2 separate regions of the Homo sapiens genome follow, and region 1 is linked to region 2. Evidence: promoter capture Hi-C in human tissues and cell types (Jung and others, 2019). All regions are on one chromosome and are shown on one strand. The core of a region is centred on a gene start or on the middle of the fragment in contact, and the rest is flanking DNA. Distances in the headings are between cores, read along the strand shown. Region 1 overlaps TCP11 (t-complex 11). Region 2 holds the start of PPARD (peroxisome proliferator activated receptor delta).

Region 1 (3,602 bases), core at 33-2,532, 230 kb after region 2:
TTGACACATCACAATCAGCAGGTGTTTGGTCCCTACTACACTGAGATCCTAAAAACCCTCATTTCCCCAGCCCAGGCACTGGAAACAAAAGTGGAGTCTGTTTGATAGCGTCGGCTCAGAGCCCTGGTACCTTGGACCCAAGAGGAGGCCCATCATCTTCCTGGAGTAACATCACCAGTGACCAGCAGACAGTGAGCTTCTATCCCAGGCCCTGCAGCCAGTACACCAAGGCTGTAGGGATCAAGCATGTAAACACCAACTGGTCCATACCCATTCATTAATAAACTTCTTAAGTGCAAGAAATCCTCCATTTTTCCTGTGCTGCAGCTGAGGCCAAGCCCTAATGACTTCAGCCCTCAACTAGCTGAGAAGCCAGCAAGCCCTCAGTTTTCCCCTCTCTGGCTATGTGTACCTTTCAACATATAGAGCTGAACAGCCAAGATACCCAGGTGCTAGCCTTATTTTCTTTAAGGGTAAAGCATTACTCCTGGGGAGCTCTTAGACCTCTGGAATTATCCAAATTGTGAATATAAGGGTTTCTTTTGGAAGCCTTTGTTTTGTCCAGTTCACCTCAGGAGAGGACATGGTTTAGGGAAGTTAGTTCATTTCTAGGACCAAATTTCCCTAAAGGTTTCAGAGAATGCAACAAGAAGTCAAGGGATATTAAGAGCCTTAGTTTCCTCTTCTGTTGCATGGTCTGAAGCAATATGCATACCCGGGGCTGGATGAAAATGGATATTGGCTACAAGCAAGCATTCTGTTGAGGACAAGTTCAGAGTTCATGGGACCTCTCTCTCAAGTTATCCAGAGTTCAGACTTGGACAGTTAGGTCTGTGACTCACTTGTATCAAGTTTATTCTGGTCCTGTTCTCTAGCCCAGTAAGTCTCCTTTCCCTCATCTCTAAGCTTAGAACACCCGGTTTTTCCAGGCAGAGGTGATGTGGGCATTCAGAGGTGGAGCAGCCTCCATCCTTCTGGCTTCTCCATTCTGGGCAGTTGTGGTTGTAAGCTGTTGTTGGCATCACAAATAAGAGAGGTTCTAGGAAGGATTTGGGCTTGTCTCCTGAGATTGTAGAGACCAACTCATTTTCAGGCTGACTGCAGCAGACCAGCTCCAACCTAGTATGGCTGAAATGAAGAAAATGTTCAGTTCAGATTTAGAAAATGGAAATTCAATTATGTGTTCTCAAGGCAAGGTGAAGAAAAACAATGTTCTCATCATTTTAGGTGATGGAAGTTGCTGAGTGTTAACACACCTAATCTAGGAAGAACAACAGAAGGGGGATTTGAGTTCCATTAGGCCCAGTGTTTCCTTCTAATTGATTTCCTTTTTTAGAGGGTAGATCCTAGGTAGGTGACAGAGCTAGATCAACACAATGTGACTTTTACTATGACTAGAAAAGCTGGAGGGCCTGGATCATTTGCATTTTTCGTCTTATAACTAGACAGCTTCAGGATGGGGAAGCCCAGATAAAGTGGTATGTTTAATAAACAGTGAGGCTTGCCCAGTTGGATTCTCTGATTTGTAACTATTAATTTGAATTTTTAAAAAATCCACGTTTTGGAAACCTCATTATTTTAGAGGTAAAAGTACTCTGAAGGGATTCCTGGGAAGAAGATTGTCCAGTTGGCAGGTGCAGACCCTGGACTGATAATAGAACCTTGCTTTGTACTTCACAATTAAAATAGGGACTCATCAGTACCTTAGAAAATTTGAATTTATTTTCTTATGCTTTCTCATGGAGGAGACAGGGATCTTGTCCCTAAACAAGGAAAGATAGCTCCATTCAATCCTGCCCACTGGTTTGAGGGAATTTTAAAAAAATGTATATTTGTATTTTAAATTGTGGAGAAAATACATGTAATATGAAAGCTATTAGTGACATTGAGTACATTCAGAATGTTGTACAGCCATCACGACTAACTAGTTCTAGAACATTTTCATCACCACCAAAGGAAATCCCATTCCAGTAACCAGTCACTGCCCATTTTCCCCCATTCCCTTCCCCTGGCAACCACTAATCTTTCTGTCTCAATGGGCTTTCTGACTCTGAATATTTCCTATAAATGGAATCATATAATATGTAGCTTTTTGTGACTGGCTTCTTTCACTCATTTTTCAACATTCATTTGTGTTCTAGCATGTATTGGTAGTTCATTCTTTTTATAGCTAAGTAATATTCTGTCACATGAATATACCACATTTTGCTTATCCACTCATTAGTCCATGGGTATGACTTCAGCCCTCAACTAGCTGAGAAGCCAGCAAGCCCTTAGTTTTCTCTTCTCTGGCTATGTGTACCTTTCAACATATAGAGCTGAGCATTTTGGCTTTTGTAAACAATGCCACAGTGAACACTTGGCGTTATTTACAAAACTCATACATAAGTTTTTGTTTGAACACCTGTCTTCTATGTTTTTGAGTGTCTACCCATATATCCAGGAATAGAATTGCTGAGTTCTATGGTAATCCCTGCTTAATTTATTGAGAAACTACCATTTTGAGTTAGTATTTGTATATGGTGTAAGGAACAGATCCAGCTTTATTCTTTTGTATGTGGACATCCAGTTTTCCTAGCATTATTTGTTGAAGAGACTGTCCTATTCCCATTGATGAATGGTCTTGGTCTTTGACTGTTGTCAAAAATCGATTGACCATATATGCAAGGGTTTATTTCTGGACTCTATTTTATGCCATTTATCTATATGTTTATCCTTATGCCAGTAAGATATTGTTTTGATTACTGTAAGCTTTGTAAGTTTTGAAATTAGGAAGTATAAGTTCTCCAGCTTGGTTGTTTTTCAAGATTATGTGGCTATCCCTTCCATTTCCATATGAATTTTAGGATCCATTTCTGTAAAACAGGAAGTTGGAATTTTTGATAAGGAGATATATATATATAAATTTGGGGAGTATTGCTATCTTGTCTTCCCATCCATGAACACAGAATGTCTTTTCCTTTTGTTAGGTCTTTAATTTCTTTCAGCAACCTTTTATAGTTTTCAGTGTACAAGCCTTGCACTTCCTTGGTTAAATTTATTCCTAAGTATTTTATTCATTTGGATGTAATTGTTAATAGAATTGTTCTCTTAATTTCTGTTTCGTATTGTGCATTGGCAGTGTATAAAAGTAAAACCAATTTGTTTGTTGATCTTGTACCCTGCAACTTCACTGAGTTTATTATATCAAATACTCTGTGAATTCTTTAGTATTTTCTACATATGAGATCATGTTATCTGAGAATAGGAATAGTTTTGCATTTTTTTTTCCTAATTCTGATCCCTTTTATTTATTTTTCTTGCCTAATTTCTCTGGCTAGAACTTCCAGTACAATGTCTAATAGCAGTGATAAAAGCACTTGTCTTGCATCCTGATCTTAGGGGGAAAGCTTTCAGTCATTCACCATTGAGTATACAGTTAGCTATGGATTTTTCATAAATACCTTTTATCGTGTTGAGGAAGTTGTCTTCTATTTAGTTTGCTCACAATTTTTTTTTTTAATCATGAAACGGTATTGAGTTTTTTGTTTGATTTTTTTTTTTTTCTTTTTTTGTAGATAGGGTCTCGCTCTGTCACCCAGGCTGGAGTGCAGTGGGGCGAT
Region 2 (3,812 bases), core at 1,313-3,812:
TCTCAAATCTCTCACCTGCCACCACAGCAGAGAGCACTACTAAGGGGTAAGCACGGCCAGAAGTAACAAACTGCTCAAAAGAGTAAGGAGGAGTCCTTGAAAGCCAGAGACTAGACTAAAAATCTGTCCAACACTTGACCTCTACCTCTTTAGAATGATCCACTAAAACCCTGGAGAGATGCTATTCACAGGAACAAGGAAAACCCTCTGGTCCAGTCTACCCAAATCTTTGCAAGTGCTGCAAAGGGGGTCTGGGGGTCAGTGGAGAAGGGACTGGCTCAACAACAGGCCATCCACAATCCTATTGCTTTCACAGAAAACAGTGTACAAGAGGATTACAAAACTTTAAAGTCTGGTCAAGCTGGTTCCTTTGGCTCTCCACCGCAGCTCCTAAAGGTTGCCAACTCCCATGTCCAATCTGGCTCAAAGACAGCACAATCATCAAAAGAGGAGCCCCTAGAAACCTGGGGCCAGGTGAAACAATGAGCCTTCATTTCTAAACATGAGAGTGGGTCACGCTTTCAGAATCCTCCAAGATCAGACTGGGTAGAAACAAAGGATATGTTATTTCTTGAATACTTCTTTAGAGAACCAACGCCAAATAAAGGAGCTCAAACTGAAGGATATGACGAGAATCTTCTGCTTGGTAAGGTTAAACATCCAGACACACATGGAAGGTGGTGGGCTCTCAAGCCCCAGAGAAGATGATCTATGTGACTGGAAGCAGATGTGTCTGCTCAAGTTCCTGACAAGGTCTAACTACTGCAGCCCCACAGCCCACCAGGGTAGTTATCAATCTGATACCTCATACTATGCCTGGGCAAAGGGAACAGAGCTCTGGGATTGCCGTTCCTCCTGGATACAGAGGAAATTAAGCTCCCAGGGAAAAAGAGGGACAATTTGGATTCCCTAGATTCAGAAAAGAACAAAGAAAAAAGAGGGAGAAGAGACTCCAAGAGAACATGTTCAGTGACCAACATCAGAGGCACATTCAGTTGGCCAAAGATTGTCAAAGAGATATGAGAGAAAATCAGCAGCTGTTTCAAGCCACCAATAATAAAAGGGGACAGATGCCCGCCAGCCCCAGGGCTATCAGGCCAGCAATCTATTTCAAAACTCAAACGGGAAAAAAAAAAGTTCTGGAGCCAGTACACAGAAAAAAGGTTGAGGACCACAAGTATTTTCTGGAGCACAGCTTCTGGAGAATTCTCTTAGTCCTTTCGGATGGAGCACAGGGTGGAGGGTGGGAGTGAGGGCAGAGAGAGGCTGGGGTATCATGGTATAAGTGTATTCCACACATCCAGAGTGGAAAGACACAAAACCCCGGTTCCTGGAAGGGGAAAAGAATTGGACAAAGCCTCCGGCTACCCGTGGCACACATCCAGCTCAGCGCCGTCTCCCCCAAGGGTTCCTGGAAGTCAACAGCCCCATAAAGGGGAAGTATTAAAGCTGAGATAAGAAGAATGGCCTACAAATTGGACATCATCTCTGATGCAACACCCACGTACATTCTCCCACACAATCTGTTATTTCCTTTAGTCAATCAGCCTCTTAATTCGATCAAGGTCTGAACACCTCCACCCCCACCCCATGGTTATGTCAACTGCAGGTCAAGTGAAAGTAGAGTAGAGTGTGGAGCTAAGGCTTCTCCCTGAAGCAGGGGAAAGGAACAGGGAGAGAAAAGGAGGTGGGCGACAGGAATGTAGGGGACAGAATTGATACGAAGGAAATCGGAAAAAGGAGCAAAAACAGGGCCTCTCAGGGAACCAAGGTGAGAGTCTTAGGGAGACAGGGACTGCAGGCACGGAGTTGGAAAAAGCCTAGGAACACCCTGGGGAAGAGGATGGGGACCCATAATACTAGGAGGGATCAGACCACAGATAAGAAGGGGACAGGGATGGGGAGAGAGAGTAAAGCCTGAGAGAGCAAGGATGGGAGGATGAAGGCAGGAGACAAGGATAACGAGGGGGACAGAGGAAAAGATCCCAGAGAAGACTCTCGCTAGATAGGGCAGTGGATTCAGGAACACCAGAAACGGGTGAAGGAAGAGGTCAGAGGCAGGGGAGGGGAATGGGAGAGGCCCCCGGGCCTGAGACGGGGTTCTCACAAGTGGGAGAAGACGAAGCCACCAGGCCCAAGAGGGGGCAAAGAGTAGGGTGGAAGGAGGCCCGTATTTCGGACTCACTCAAGCAGCTATGGGGGTCCAAGGGCGGGGGGGCGCAGGGTCAGCGGGGCGCCTACATGGCAACGCACGACGGCTGACCGGAGCGGGCCGGAGCATCAGGAAGCCGCCGTGACGCTGTCCGCGGACCCCGGCAGCTCCCCGCACCCCGTTCCCCGCCGCCGGGCCTTGCGCCCCAGTCCCGCTGGCCGCCTCGGCCCAGGCCCGGCGCTTCCCTCCGCCACTTGCCTGACCGCTTCTCTCGTCTCGGACTGACCTGTCCCGGCTGCCTACGGCGCCACCGCCGCCGTCCCGCAGGCTCCGCAGAATTCTCCCGCTCCTGCCAAAACTTTTCCCATTAATCCCCAGGTCCGCGGCGGCCGCAGCGTCACACGCTCCGCGGCCCGGCCCCGCCCCCGCCAGCGAGACGTCACCGCGCTGCTCGGCCTTTCCCTCCCCACGCCCCCTTCCGCCCGGCGGCGGCCAATCACCACGCCTCCTGGAGACTCCCCTAATTCTGCCTCTCCGCCCACCGCACGCTGCCCCGGGCCAGCCTGTGGCGCCCTCTGGTGCGGGATGCGGACGTAGCAGCTAAGGGAGGAGCAGGGGAGCGCCAGGTCCAGTAGAACAAGTCCAGCAAGTGACACAAGAGGGAATTTAAAGCTGGAAGGGAATTTCTAGGTCATCTAGTGCAACCTCCTCATCTTCCAGTGAAGAAACTTAGTCCTAGAAAAGGTACGTGACTTGCAGTGACAAGTCTGGAGAGACTCTTAACCCAGTGCTAGGTCCACTGGAGGAGATCATATCGCCTATAATTTTCAAAAAAGGGCTTTCCGCCTTCAAGAGGCTTCTACAACTGGAAATTTACGGTCTTAGAGTTCTTAACCTTTCTTCCCATGTGCTTATGCAATACGCTTATTCACCTAAAATAGGGGACATCCTCCTTATTGTTGTAGAAAATTCTGTTCTTATTAATCCACATCTTTAAGACCTGGAAGGGACCTATTATCCCAACCTACCGCTTAAGATGTACCACAGGAAACTACCTAGCAGCTGGGAGGCAATCTGGTGGAAGAAGTTGGCTTTCATCTGACGATGAACAAAGCTTGACTCTCAGGTATATGACCAATGCCTCCCCTCCATCATCATTAAAGATGACCCCTCCCCTCTCCTTCGGCCACACCTTCCGTAGGCCGCAAGCTCCTTAGGCCACACCTAGCTATCTGGATGAGTGATTTTTTTTTTTTTTTTTTTTTTTGAGACACAGTTTCACTCTGTCGCCCCTGCTGGAGTGCAGTTGCGCAATCTCAGCCCGCTGCAACCTCCGCCTCCCGGGTTCAAGCGATTATCCTGCCTCAACCTCCCAAGTAGCTGGGATTACAGGCATGCGCCACACGCCCAGCTAATTATTGTAATTTTAGTAGAGACAGGGTTTTGCCATGTTGCCCAGGCTGGTCTTGAACTCCTGGACTCAAGTTATCCTCCCACCTTAGCCTCCCAAAGTGCTGGAATTACAGGCGTGAGCCACCGTGCCTGGCAGGGATGAGTGATTTTTTCCCCCTTCTTTCTGCTTCTCTTTTTCTTTTTCTTTTTTTTCCCCTACTTTTTGAAATGCTTGTGCATTATATTTGTAACTTAGATGTCAACCTCC

The links. Contacts are between HindIII fragments. The study calls those that stand out against the background at their distance.
Region 1: a fragment that was not itself captured here is called in contact with the fragment with the promoter of PPARD in region 2 in 2 of the 25 tissues and cell types used here (aorta and liver).

What each region holds. Positions count from the first base shown.
Region 1 is chr6:35,114,772-35,118,373 of GRCh38, reverse strand. It overlaps TCP11 (t-complex 11), which reads left to right. Exons shown (of 10, transcript NM_001370687.1): 10 at 1-299. The coding sequence ends at 105. Among named protein-coding and RNA genes, the nearest start is that of TCP11, 25 kb to the left of the region's middle. The HindIII fragment of the contact is 6,471 bases long and covers 1-3,602 here.
Region 2 is chr6:35,341,308-35,345,119 of GRCh38, reverse strand. PPARD (peroxisome proliferator activated receptor delta) reads right to left here and starts at 2,562. Exons shown (of 8, transcript NM_006238.5): 1 at 2,439-2,562. RefSeq lists silencers at 2,101-2,150, 2,181-2,320, 2,501-2,710. The HindIII fragment of the contact is 18,171 bases long and covers 1-3,812 here.